Regions from separate parts of the Homo sapiens genome. Here region 1 is linked to region 2. The links are contacts of gene promoters, found by promoter capture Hi-C in blood cells and fetal thymus (Javierre and others, 2016). All regions are on one chromosome and are shown on one strand. The core of a region is centred on a gene start or on the middle of the fragment in contact, and the rest is flanking DNA. Distances in the headings are between cores, read along the strand shown.

The links. Contacts are between HindIII fragments. The CHiCAGO score rates a contact against its expected background, and 5 or more counts as called.
Region 1: a fragment that was not itself captured here is called in contact with the fragment with the promoter of SPTA1 in region 2 in 1 of 17 cell types (erythroblasts); the score reaches 5.8 in erythroblasts.

Annotation. Positions count from the first base shown.
Region 1 is chr1:158,830,479-158,833,573 of GRCh38, reverse strand. It overlaps MNDA (myeloid cell nuclear differentiation antigen), which reads right to left and starts at 2,223. Exons shown (of 7, transcript NM_002432.3): 1 at 2,017-2,223. It also overlaps a transcript of OR6N1 not described here. The HindIII fragment of the contact is 873 bases long and covers 1,228-2,100 here.
Region 2 is chr1:158,685,422-158,688,310 of GRCh38, reverse strand. SPTA1 (spectrin alpha, erythrocytic 1) reads left to right here and starts at 1,596. Exons shown (of 52, transcript NM_003126.4): 1 at 1,596-1,817. The coding sequence starts at 1,794. The HindIII fragment of the contact is 3,907 bases long and covers 1-2,889 here.

The DNA of each region.
Region 1 (3,095 bases), core at 415-2,914, 150 kb before region 2:
ATGATTAAACATATATGAAGAGTTAGAGTTTTTAAATTTATGGGGAAAGAAGGTAGAATGATGTTTGCCAAGCTCTGGAGGAAAGGGGAATGGTGAAATTGTTGGTTAACGGTTAGAGTTTTAGTTTTGCAAGATGCAAAGGCGTTCTGGAGGTTGGTTGCACAACAATATGAATGTATTTAATACTACTGAACTGTACACTTGAAGCTGATTAAGATGACACATTTTATGTTACATGTTTCTTAACACAATTAAAAGAAAACAATTATTATATTCAAAGCTTTCAGAAGCTTGGCAGTGAAAATATCCATACCCACAGCTCTTTGTGAAGAACTACTCATTATGAAAAGAAATAAATCTAAGAAATGTTGGAGGCCAAAAGGGAAGAAAGATCAAGCAAATACTTTAATTAGTGTTTTTACTATCTTAAAAATAAGTAAAGCCAGAGTCAAATAAAAGAAAACAGGAACTATATGAACATACTCTTAACAGGTGAAGTTGTATGTTTGGGGGACCAGAAGATGTGAGAGTTTGCTAAGGGGCTTGTCTTTAAGGAGAATATAGATTTTTTAAAAATAAGAAACTTGACAAGAAAGGAGAAGAAGAAAGCACAGAATAAGTGCTATAAATTGAAACAAAGTAAGATGGCAAAACCAAGTTAAAATATATACCTTTATAGAATTTGCATATCTGGACTAAACTCATCAACTAGGAGGAAAAATTTTCAATTTGGATTAAAAATAAATCCAGTCATATGTTGTTGACAAAGTACAAATAAAGCATAAGTTCACTTAAGTTTGAGAAAGAGCTGGAAAAGTTATATTCTTCAAACTCTAACTTAAAGAAAGACTTTTTAGGAAAAATAGTGTAGCTTAAAATAGGCTTAAGTCAATAAGTATCAGTACATAGTTTCACTACATAATGGTAAAGTATGCAACTTGGAAAAAGATATAATAATTTAAATTATATTATAAATATAATCTGTTATTACTTTATAAAGTAGCATATAGAAGTTTTTTCTTCTCTCTAAACACACACATAACATATATACTTAGATATACATATTCTATGTAAAAATATATGGTAGAAATCAAAAGAACTACAATGAGAAATTAACAAAATCACTATTAGAGTTGGAGATTTCACCACATCTCTCAGTTACTGAAAGAACAAGGTAAAAAATAGCTTAGATTTAGATTTAGATTTTTCAAACATAATTAACAAGCTTACTTAAGAAACTTTATCTTACTTAAATAGAATTTGGAATCCAACGTTTATAAACTCTTCTCAAGTACTCATGGAGTAATTAGAAAACATTCATATGTACAAAGCCATAAAAAAGTCAAAATGTATCCCAAAGTAGGAAATATATAATTGATTCTCCCTGTCTTTTCATTATACCTTGCCACAAAAAATGTTATCTATGACTGAGTAAAGCATAGACCATTTGAAAAAGAGAATTATTTCTTCTTACACTTGTTGTAAAATGAAGCATAAAATGAAACTGATTCATGAAAATGTAAAGATTATTTTTGAGTAAATGCTTGTAAAATTGAGAAATTAATGTGTGCACATGTCTATGCTTTTTAAAATAGAGATAAAATCATATAATAGAGATTTATATCCTGGTTTATTTTTTACTAAATATTACTTCATAATAATTTTCTTATCTGACTGTCTTGTCTTTTAACTTAGGCCCAAACCCAGTCACCAAGTCATCCTCCAGCCAAGAAAACCAAGTATCTCCTCTAAATATCAATTTATGCCAAAAGACACCCAAGAATTAATTTTTAAAACCTGCTGTAGACAAAATACATTTTTTTGGTTCATACCCCAATTGTGGTAGAATAAAAGATATCCATTTGCTACCTAGACAGTTAAAGCATTCAGTTCTCAGTTTTCTGAATATGATTGATAACAACACTTCTGGTCTCAGGCAATTATTCTCTACTGAGATGGTGTGGTTACCAACTAGATACCTAGATCTTTCTCTAAAGAACTTCCCAGAAATCTCACCTTAATGGATGCTTCTTCCACAATAGTCTTCAGAAATCCTGGAGTCACTGTCTTGTTTAGGACAGAATCACTGTCCGTAAAGCTTTGGAGAGATTAAACTGCAGACTATTTTAATCTTGTAAAGGGCTGAGAAATGAAAGCTAACAAGGAAAAATGGCACTTGTTAGAGCCACTCTCAATCTTGATTGTAGATGGCCTTCTTACACTGTCCTAATTCCTAACTAGAAAGAAGTTATGTAATCATGAAACAATTTTGAAGCCACGCCTATCAGCCTTTGTAGCTTTCTATTTCAGATGTCAGAGAAAGTGGTCAGTTCCTCTTTGTAGTAAGTAATCTCAGTCACAAGGAGAAATGACAGTAAATGGTGCCTCTTCTTCGCTTTTTTGACTTACAAATACTTGCTGAAAGGAGTTTCAAACTCAGAACTTTCTTATAAAGCTAACTTACATATAGGTCATTAGAAACCGGTAGCCGCTTGAATAAGGATCTTAATATAAATTGGGAAAGGCAAAACACCAAAGTTTCTCCCTCCTTTCCTGTTCACAGAGTGGCAGGAGCAGGAGATCTTGGTAGAGATGTCTATTGCTACCAGAACTTGACTTCATCTCTTGGATAGGGGTGGGTCTACTGTGAAATTGTTTTTGTTTAAATAGTACCTACATATTCACCCAGTTATTAATAACTGATACACCTGGAGCTTGACAGAGGCAGAAAGTCATTATGAATATGTAAATCCTTATTCAAATAATTTGAAAGAGTTTCATACTAGTTGCTCTCTTGAGTATAATAACTGAGCTGCCTTACCTTGATTATTAAATTCATGATTACTCATGCTTTTTGCATTATTTATGGATAGTTGGTTCATATCATGACTGAAACCTTGAACATTCTGGAACAGCACTGAAACTCTGGAATGATAGGGGGCCTGATAAACCCTTTGTACTGCAATTTTTTTTTCCTGTGAAGAACAGTGGGTGCACTACAAAGTATCATAACTCTGAATTGTCAAATGAATGGTATCAGTTAGCAGACAGTGCTGTGGTTACCAACTAGCTGATCTGTAAGCAAAATGTGGTCA
Region 2 (2,889 bases), core at 347-2,846:
GCTCATCATAACTGGTCATTAGAGAAATGCAAATCAAAACCACAATGAGATACCATCTCATGCCAGTTAGAATGGCGATCATTAAAAAGTCAGGAAACAGCAGATGCTGGAGACAATGTGGAGAAATAGGAATGCTTTTACACAGTTGGTGGGAGTGTAAGTTAGTTCAACCATTGTGGAAGACAGTGTGGCAATTCCTCAAGGATCTAGAACCATAAATACCATTTGACCCAGCAATCCCATTACTGGCTATATACCCAAAGGATTATAAATCATTCTACTATAAAAACACATGCACACATATGTATATTGTGGCACTATTCACAATGGGCCATACTATTTCTTTGGTCACAAGGTTATCACATGTTTGGCATTCTTGCTAAGATGATTCTGGAACAGGGAAACAGAACAAATAATGTTGATGGACTAAGAGAAGATTGACTAAAAAAATAAGGAGCAGAGTGCCATGATAATCATATTGATATGGATTTGACTATTTAAATACTTTCAAACCAAATCACCATAGAATGAAACTTTGTTTTTTAGGGACTGTTTTCTCACATAAAGACGGGTATGATAATACCTGCCTCACAGAATTTTTAAAGATTAGAAATTAATGTAAATTGATCATGTTAATATATAAATATTTCATAGATGTTGATTCTTTTCTCTTAAAGATAAAATAATTTCCTCTCCTTATCCCAACTTCAGACAAATATTCCTCAGTGCATGTGTTATAGTGCAGTCTCTAAAATTATGTTCCTGCCTTTACTACTAAATTTGACTTGAATATAATGAAACTATATGGAAAAGTAAAGTAATCCAGACTTTCAAGAAGAGAATGTAAAGGACTCTCAGTTTTTCTATGTGAGATCCAAGAACAGGGGAAACCACAAATGTAGAATCAAAATCTTCTCTTGTAGATCATGGAAGTTAGATTATTCAAGCTGCATTTACACTGGAATGAAGTTTGGCATGGATAGCCCCACTGGCTTGTAGAAAGGTCTAAGAGCATCCCACTATTTTCTTTTTGCTTGTTTGTTTCATTTTTGTAAGTTAGTCTAAAATAACTATGCCTATGGAAAAAGTCTACCTCTTTTTGTTCTCCATTAAAATTAATACATACAGTAGGATGATTTATACCATATATATCAGAAGTCAGCCATATTTTCAACTTTTTTGTGACATCATTGGTTTGTCAAATAAGGTATCCTAATTTTTGTTTTACAAAATATTAATGAACACATCATATAACTTTTTTTGTTCCTTCCATTTAAATGATTAAGAGTACAACTAAATCAGATTTTTAAAGACCAAATTGTTGAGGTTAGGAATAAAATCTTATTTTGTGAAAGACTCTCTAGAAAAAGCCAGGATAATTCGTTGACTTAAAGACTGTGAAAAATCTGCAGTTGAGTTGGATGAAGTTGTTGAGCTGTATTTCCTATAAATATATGGGGTTTTTTTTCTAATTTTTCATCCAAAAACCTTACTTTCATTTTTTAAGTCTTATTGAGTAACTTTGAAAGCCAGAGCCTCCCAAAACTGCTGAGTCACCCAGTATCTGTAAAACTTAGCAGTTGCCTCAGCTGAGTATGTCTTCTAAAGATAATGTCGATTGTGTATGGCTGATGGGATTCTAGGACCAAGCAAGAGGTTTTTTTTTTTCCCCCACATACTTAACGTTTCTATATTTCTATTTGAATTCGACTGGACAGTTCCATTTGAATTATTTCTCTCTCTCTCTCTCTCTGACACATTTTATCTTGCCAGGTTCTAAACCTTTAGGAAAAATGGAGCAATTTCCAAAGGAAACCGTAAGTACATATTTCTCTTCCATGCAATTTGTCATTAATATTATTAGGAAAGATGTTTCCTTTAAACTTTCTATACTATCTTTCCCAGGAACATTAATAATTATTTGGCTTTTAACAAATAGATAATTTTACTTTTAACTATTTTTTGTGAACAATAACCTTGAGCTTATGTCTGTGCAGCACCAAGACCCAGTAATGACTTAAGTCGGTTCCCAGAGAGAATAAGTAGGGAGATTGAAGCTAAATAACACCTAGTAACAACGTGAGTCTCCATGTAATGATCTAATTCTATAGCCATGCCAGTAATGGCAATTCACAGAGTAGCAATTATACTTAGGAGGAATAATGGGAGATTAAAATTTAAACTCTATATTAAACATTTTGGCTGAGGTAAGCTAGGGAAAATGGTATCCATATCCAGAAGAATGAAGGTGAACCCTATGGTGATTTTGCTGGATATTGTCACAAACAGGTTGGCTCCCACTCTGGGAAAAGGATACTTATATATTGTTTTAGAGTAAAAGTTTTTATATTTCAAAAATAAATTGCAGACATGCTAATAATTTGAAATTTGTGACAATTGGGCAGAAGATAGCTGAACTTTTGATTTATAGTGTTTGTGAGTAAAGCAAGTAAAGAGTAAATATATGAGATTTATTTTTAAGTATGAAGGAAACAAAATTTTCAAACTGTTGCATATATCATTAACTAAATTAATTGCAAGCCATTCTTAATTATTTATTAAATTAAGTTAAAAATAATAAGCACTTCTCAACACCTTTTTAGCCCTTGAAAGCAATAACATTATATTTCTTTTTATCTATCTGAAATTATGTGATTTTGCTGATTTAAACTTGCTCCATGATCAGTCCAATATAATTATATCTATAGAACTTAAATGCTAGCACAAATTTATGTAAAAAGTGAGGAGAGTCTTCTGGATAATCAAGAATTTTTAACCTAAACAGAAGCTATGTCTGGTTAAAAATTACGTAAATATACTACAGCTCTTCTGACAATAGTCCCTAGAAACTTCAGGATATCTGAATATAGGTCCAACATGAGTAAACAC